2 separate regions of the Homo sapiens genome follow, and region 2 is linked to region 1. The links are contacts of gene promoters, found by promoter capture Hi-C in blood cells and fetal thymus (Javierre and others, 2016). All regions are on one chromosome and are shown on one strand. Each heading gives the region's core, a stretch centred on a gene start or on the middle of the fragment in contact. The rest is flanking DNA. Distances are from core to core; before and after follow the strand shown.

Evidence for each region. The method cuts DNA at HindIII sites, captures the fragments that hold promoters and counts their contacts. A CHiCAGO score of 5 or more calls a contact.
Region 2: the fragment with the promoter of NLRP1 here is called in contact with the fragment with the promoter of MED31 in region 1 in 5 of 17 cell types (M2 macrophages, naive CD4 T cells, M0 macrophages and 2 more); the score reaches 7.6 in M2 macrophages.

What each region holds. Positions count from the first base shown.
Region 1 is chr17:6,649,926-6,653,801 of GRCh38, reverse strand. MED31 (mediator complex subunit 31) reads left to right here and starts at 2,197. Exons shown (of 4, transcript NM_016060.3): 1 at 2,197-2,301; 2 at 3,369-3,446; 3 at 3,724-3,820. The coding sequence starts at 2,274. It overlaps C17orf100 (chromosome 17 open reading frame 100), which reads right to left and starts at 2,040. Exons shown (of 1, transcript NM_001105520.2): 1 at 326-2,040. The coding sequence starts at 1,888. The coding sequence ends at 1,532. RefSeq lists silencers at 1,673-1,722, 2,023-2,102 and enhancers at 2,353-2,482, 2,553-2,632, 2,723-2,782. The HindIII fragment of the contact is 11,591 bases long and covers 1-3,758 here.
Region 2 is chr17:5,582,296-5,586,121 of GRCh38, reverse strand. It overlaps NLRP1 (NLR family pyrin domain containing 1), which reads left to right and starts at 1,613. Exons shown (of 17, transcript NM_033004.4): 1 at 1,613-2,435; 2 at 3,276-3,452. The coding sequence starts at 2,165. RefSeq lists enhancers at 1,225-1,524, 1,545-1,804, 1,076-2,275. The HindIII fragment of the contact is 12,933 bases long and covers 1-3,826 here.

The DNA of each region.
Region 1 (3,876 bases), core at 948-3,447:
CCTGTTGACCTTAGAATAATCTCAAATTCCTTACTGTGGCTTAGAAGACCTTCTGTGGACTGGCCCCTGCTTGCTTTTAACTCCTCTCTTCCGTTCTGCTTCCATGTCTATATAATTGCTTCTCTCTCACTCCAGCCACACTGGCCTTCTTTCTGTTCCTTGAACATTCAAAGCTGGTTCCCATCCACCCTTTGTATTTGCTGTTCTTCTGCCTAGAATGCACCTGTTCCAGATCACTGTTCATTCACACATATCTCAGATTACATGTTAACTAATCAGCAAGGCCTTCCCTGACCATTTTATCAAAAGAAGCCACTTACTTCCATTCTCTATCACATTACCCATGTATTTCCTTCATAGTGCTAATCACAATAGAAAATTGTCTTGTTTCATCATTGCTTGTCTGCCTTTTCACCAGAGTGTAAGCTCCACTAGAGCTGGGACTTTGCCTTTTTTACTGCTATAGCCCAAGTTCCCAGAATACAGACAGTTCCCAACTTAAGATGGTTTGACTTATGATTTTTCGACTTTACAATGGTACAAAAGTGACATTCAGTAGAAATAGTACTTTAAGTACTCTTACAACCATTCTTTTTCACTTTTAGTACAGTATGCAATAAATTACATGAGATATTCAACATTTTATTATAAAACAGGCTTTCTGTTAGATGATTTTGCTCAACTTTAGGTGTTCTGAGCATGTTTAAGGTAGGCTAGGCTAAGCCATGATGTTTAGTAGGTTAGGGGTATTAAGTGCATTTTCAAATTACCATATTTTCAACTTACAATAGTTTCAACGGGAGGTAACCCCATCGTAAGTGGAGGAACATCTAGTGCCTGGCACAGAGCCGGTTCTCAATAAATATAACTCTTCTCCATCTTCTTCAAACCTCAGGCCAGGTTTCAGTGACCTCCTCTCACTTTCTAAGATTATTTTTGCTTGCTGGTGGGTTTACTGTCATTTTTAACCACATCTAACCTACCTTAAAAAAGTGTATGGATGGGGGTGCCAGGTACAAAGACTTAGCATAAAGAAAACGACCATTTACTTTGAAACATAAACAAAGGCCAATTAATAATTTATGAGTCTGTTCCTTGTCCCTCGAGTTTTTAGCAGGCATGGAATCATTCCACAGGTCATTATTTCAGTTTGGTCTCTGTTCCTAAGGGGTGAAGGTTTTCTGAGGGCTGTGGATCCCAAACTCACCTGGCTCAGAGGCTCAAACAGCCTCTCTTTGTCCATCAACCCGATTTAGACAGCATCCTGGGCCTGAAAACCTTCTGTGCTGGCTTCAAGTGAAAATAGTTCACTGGGTCAAAAGTAGGCTGGTCCAAGACGCAGGACGGTCAGTAAACGTTGGCTGTGTTCAGAAACTGCGGCTTGGCTGTTTCTTACATTGATTTATGGTTTGTTTCCATGAAACCGAAAATGATTGGTCCACCTGGCAGCTGGCTGGCTGGCTGGCAACTGGAGGCCTTTCTGTCCTGGCTGAGGGCCCTGGCCCCTTGGTGGCCTTTGGGAAGCAGCATCTCATCGGGCCGTTTTTTCGTTCTGGCGGGCGGCCGGCTTGGCCCGCGGGGTCGGGCTCTCCGCGCAGTGCAGAGACGTCTCCACCCTCAGGGACGAGGCTCTGACGTGGCGGGAGGTCGTTTCCGTGCGCTGCGAGGAGGATTCCACGTGCCGGGAGGACGCCTCGAGGATGCGAGGGAGCCGCTTCCCCGAGGGGGAGAGGGAGGGCCCCTCGCTGCGGCGCTGGGAGGTCTCCACCCGCCGGGACGACGTCTCCACGCGGTGGGACGAGGTCTCCACGCGGACCGTGGACGTCTCTGTGTAGCGGGTGGTCCCCACCCGGGGCGAAGACTGCTTGGCCCCTCGGGCTGAGGCCATTCTGCCGGCGTGAGGGGGCCAGGGAGGCCTCGGGGCACCCTACAGCCCAATGGTCACCGCAGGCAGAAGAGAGGAAAACTACGGTACTGCCATAGCCGGGAGCGCCACAACACGATGACGTGGAAGCACCATGGTCCTTCGAAGGCTAAAACACTGGACTCCTGCCCCTCAGGCGCTCCCACGGCCCGGGCCCCGCCCCCTCGCTATTTTGGAGCCAGCGCGGGTGGAGCCATCCCAGGGCTGGTCGGGGATGGGCGGAGCCGCCCCGCCCCATATCCCACAGTGCCCCGGGACCGGAAGAGGGAGCCGTGGTTTCCGGAACTTCGCCCGCGTCTCTGGGCTTTTGCTCTGTCAGGCTGGTGGCGTTTTGGTGTCTTCGTTTGTTATGGCCGCTGCTGTCGCTATGGAGACAGGTGAGTAGCTCTCTGATCTTGGAGTCTTCGCAGATGGAACTCTCCTTGACCCAGACCTCTTCCCCGTGGCCTCCTTCCAGGCCTTACTCTTGGCAGGGTTAATATTTGGACAGAGAGGAGAGAAGGCTCTTGTAGCGTCTAGAAAGACTAAGGTACTCTTTGCAGTTTTCCTGATTTGGTTTGTTCGCACATCTTTGCTATTCAGACACCACCCCACCAGCTCCCTGGCGTGGGTGAGACTAAGGGAGAGGACTTGTGTGTTAAACCGTGTCCTCCTTGATTGGTTTTCTGCTTCTCACATGAGCTTGCCTAAGTTTGAAATATCGTCGCCAGACTTGTGTATCATTCTGCTACTGGTGCTTCTTTTTTTTTTTTTTTTTGAGACAGCGTCTGGCTCTGTCGCCCAGGCTGGGGTGCAGTGGCGCGATCTCGGCTCACTGCAAGCTCCGCCTCCTGGGTTCACGCCATTCTCCTGCCTCAGCCTCTCAAGTAGCTGGGACTACAGGAGCCCGCCACCGCTCCCGGCTAATTTTTTTTGTATTTTTAGTAGAGACGGGGTTTCACTGTGTTAGCCAGGATGGTCTCGATCTCCTGACCCTGGTGCTTCTTATATGCATGCGCTGCATGATCTTTTAGGCTCTCCGCAGTCTCTTGCATCCTAAGTTTTTCTTTACTGATTCAGCCCCTAGCGTTTGCGAAACTTAATCACTGTTAACAGTTGTTACAACGCATTATTAAAATAGGGGAAGCCACAGTTATTACAGCCTACCTTAGTGATCACTGTTAAAATTCCTACATAGTGGCCCACGAGTGGTAGGAATTCTCCGTTTGTGTTGCTGTTTTCTTTGATGATTTCTCTTTAACTTTAGAGAAACTTCTAACTTACTCCTTTTAATCAGGGCTCCGCTTTTCTTAGATTTCGAAGGAAGGTTTATCTCCTCCCACTCCTAGTTTAGGAAGACCATCTCAACATTAGTCAGGTTTCTTTATTGCTCTTTCCTTACTACAAATCAGTATTATATACAGTGACCTTTGTTTTCCATGATTTTTGCTGTCTTGTCTCCTAGATGATGCTGGAAATCGACTTCGGTTTCAGTTGGAGTTGGAATTTGTGCAATGTTTAGCCAACCCAAATTACCTTAATTGTAAGTTGTTAAGCACCTCATTAAATTGAGTAGCTATTAATGATTTCTGACAGAAGAGTTGCAGTTCAAAATAGTATCTACTTTTACACATTCTCAGTTGAATGACATTACACTTATGCTGGTATATAGATATAATTGCGTACTGGGACTTGTGTTTTGAATCCAATGTGTGTTGGTGGTGGGGGTGTTATGTAAATAGATCCTTTATATTAGGGGTAACAAATCACAGTTTAAGGATTGGTTTGACCTACAGATTTTTTTTTTTAATGCTTTTCAGTTCTTGCCCAAAGAGGTTACTTCAAAGACAAAGCTTTTGTTAATTATCTTAAATACTTGCTTTACTGGAAAGACCCAGAATATGCCAAGTATCTAAAGTAAGTTTAATTTTTATAATCCTAAGCATGTGTATACTTTATTATATAATAGATTT
Region 2 (3,826 bases), core at 364-2,863, 1.1 Mb after region 1:
TAATAATAAATAAAGTGCTTTTCTCAGTCCTGTGAGTCATTTCAGCAAATTATTGAACCTGCCGGGGACTGTGGGAACCCTTGAATTTGTCACCAAGTCAGACAGAGATGCCAGTGGTCTGGGCACCCCATTTGCAACTGGCATCTGATATGAGGCCAGCTCTTCACTGAAACCCTAAACCTGTGAGGTTTGATGCCAACTCCAGGCAGTCAGTGTCAGAATTGCACTGTAGGACACCAGTTGGTGTCTAGAGAGTTGGTGCCAGAACTGGCTGGTGTGAGGAGGAAAAAAAGCCCACACAGCCCTCCTCCAGGCCATTCCTCCCGCTACATGGAGTCTCACGGTCCTTCACGGAGTGCTCAGAGCCTCCCGATCATCCCACTTTTAGCACAGCACTTTTCCACTTCTGGTCAATCTGATATTAGAATGTCCTACAATGTGCTTATTAGCCATTTTTTAAAACTAACATTTATAAAATTTATTTAGGCCAGGCACGGAGGCTCACACCTGTAATCCCAACATTTCGGGAGGCCGAAGTGGGCGGATCACCTCGGATCAGACTGGCTAACATGGTGAAACCCCATCTCTACTAAAAATACAAAACAATTAGCCAGGCGTGGTGGTGAGTGACTGTAATCCCAACTGCCCAGGAAGCTGGGCTGATGCAGGAGAATCGCTGGAACCCAGGAGGTGGAGGGAGCTTGCAGTGAGCCGAGATCTTGCCACTGCACTCCAGCCTGGGAAAGAGAGAGAGACTCTAAGACCTTTTGCTGAATTGAAGCCTCTTGGTAAACCTATGATGTCCCATTTAATAGATGGGCAAACTGAGGCTCAAAGAAATAAATCAGGCACATAAGGAGTCCTTGTCCAAGCAAGCCGTGGGTTGAAGCCTGGGCTCTGCCAGTCCAAGTGAAACCAAAGCATCTCCAGAAATTCCTGGTGGTGTGTTACATCAGCAAATGAGTAGGCAATGTCATTCCTCAACCTGAAGTCATTGGCATCTTGCAGATTCCACGAAAGAGGAAGTCTGCCCCTGGCTCCCCGAGGCCTGCTTGCAGGAATGAGGAAGGGGCTGTTCTGCTTTCAGGTGGAAATGTTCACCAGCTAAGTGCTGGGCTGCCCAGAAGGCAAACAGCCCCCTGGGCCTGGGACACATGCTTTAGTGCCCCTGGTAGCATGGCAGGACATGCAGTGCAACTCAAGAAGCTCCCAAAACCATGAGAGGCTGGGAAAAATGCTCCCTGGCCCAGTTCTAATGTTTCCCAATAAGGAGCTGCCCGGGCAGACACAGGGGGCCCCACCCATCCTGAGAGGCTGGGCCTGGGCTGCAGACACAACTGCTCGGAGAGTCTGCATCCTGGCTCTGCAGACAGGCTCTAGATGATGGGCTGGCGGAGTGCCCATGTGGAGGTGCACACACCGTGTTTAGTATGGGCCTGTACCTGCTGCAGCGTCAGCTGGTCTGGGCCTGTGCTCCTGGTCCGCCTATAGATGCCATGTGGCCCATCTGAATCTGTGACTCTGAGTCTGGCCTACCCAGGCCTGGTTTGATCCTACCCCCTGGCCACGCCCCTTGTGGGTTTCCTCTGGGTGACGTTTCCTTCCTGCTCTTGTTGACTAGGCGCTGTTCTTGCTGGCTGGTGCCCCAGGGCCTGGAGAGGTCTGAAGAAACCTGGGAGCCAGCAGCCCGGGGCTCCACTCTGGGTTCTGAAAGCCCATTCCCTGCTCTGCGGCTCCTCCCACCCCACCTCTTCTCAGCCTTGCAGCTCAAGGGTTGATCTCAGGAGTCCAGGACCCAGGAGAGGGAAGAATCTGAGGAACACAGAACAGTGAGCGTTGCCCACACCCCATCTCCCGTCACCACATCTCCCCTCACCCTCACCCTCCCTGCCTGGCCCTGGACCCCATCCCAGGACCTCCCTATCAGCTGACTTCTTCCAGTGTCTTGCAGGCCCCTCTGGGCTCCTCCCTCCCCTGGCTTTTCCTACCACTCCCCCTCTATCGGCGTCTATCTGTAGGTGCCCTGGGATTTATAAAACTGGGTTCCGAATGCTGAATAAGAGACGGTAAGAGCCAAGGCAAAGGACAGCACTGTTCTCTGCCTGCCTGATACCCTCACCACCTGGGAACATCCCCCAGACACCCTCTTAACTCCGGGACAGAGATGGCTGGCGGAGCCTGGGGCCGCCTGGCCTGTTACTTGGAGTTCCTGAAGAAGGAGGAGCTGAAGGAGTTCCAGCTTCTGCTCGCCAATAAAGCGCACTCCAGGAGCTCTTCGGGTGAGACACCCGCTCAGCCAGAGAAGACGAGTGGCATGGAGGTGGCCTCGTACCTGGTGGCTCAGTATGGGGAGCAGCGGGCCTGGGACCTAGCCCTCCATACCTGGGAGCAGATGGGGCTGAGGTCACTGTGCGCCCAAGCCCAGGAAGGGGCAGGTGAGTGGACAGAGGACCCCACTGCCCGCGGGACATCCCCTGGCCCTCATGCCTGCCCTGCCCTCTTGGGACCCCACCACTGAGCCCTCCCTGCCAGGCCTTCCTCTGAGCAGTGACATGGAACTGCCCTCTCAAAGGGGGATCCAGGCCCCAGACTATGCTGGAGCCAGGAGGCTTGCTGGGGGGGCCCTTGCTGCACCTCAGAGCCCCACACCCTCTTCTATTCAAGTGCATTCCCGGTACTCGCCTGGCATTGTAGTTATGAGCACGGACTTGGGAGTCAGGCACTATCACCAGTCCTGGCACTATCACCCTGGGCCAATCACTTCACTGCTCTCTGCCTATTTCTCTGTCTGCAAAATGGGAGAGTGAGAGCCCGCCTCCCTGGGCTGTGTGAGGGTTAAAAGAGATCATCCAGGTTAAACATTTAGCACAGAGTCTGATATACAGTAAGTGCTCAATAAATAAGATCTCCCATTGCTGTTGTTGCTGCTGCTGCTGCTGCTGTTATTATTACTATTAGCCACCCTGGGTTGCAGATGCCGTTGGCCCAATAAAGCACAGCTGAGGCTCAGTAGGAGTAGTGATTTACACAGGGAGATAGTCAGGACCAAGACAGATATGCAAATTTCCTGATCCTAGATGAGGATTTTTTGCCTAGCAGTATCTATAAGAACATCATTCTTCAGACAAGCCTCTAGAGGAAGTTGTAGAGGGCTGCAGCGGGTTCACTGGTGTATCCTGACCTCTCTTGGTTGAGAGAGGAGACCAGCTCAGTTCCCTGGCACCTTGCCCCTGCCCCTCTGATGTGTCTCCAACCTCTTTGTCTCTTTCCTGTAGGCCACTCTCCCTCATTCCCCTACAGCCCAAGTGAACCCCACCTGGGGTCTCCCAGCCAACCCACCTCCACCGCAGTGCTAATGCCCTGGATCCATGAATTGCCGGCGGGGTGCACCCAGGGCTCAGAGAGAAGGGTTTTGAGACAGCTGCCTGACACATCTGGACGCCGCTGGAGAGGTGAGGCTTGCTGAGGCAGGCTGACAGCCCTGGGTGGAGCTGTGAATCAGCTGGTGGGCCCCACCCAGAGGATCATGTCTGTGCATGGGGACCTGACATGGGGGACAGCAGAGGAAGGATAGGGGAGCCAGGATGGGCTGTGAGAGGTAGGCCTGAAATTGATCTTTCAGGGACCTTCCGGTGCTGAGATTGCATCCCTCCCCATGTGGCAGATGGGGAAGCTGAGACCCATGTGGGTCAGGCAATGAGTCTTCCCCAACTGGGTGCCCAACTCGTGACATGGTCCTTGCCCGAGAACTCAGCTCATAATATTGATGGGCTCTGAAGATCCTTAGGGTCAGGGTGGTCCAGAAGTTCCAAGGAGGACTCTGTTT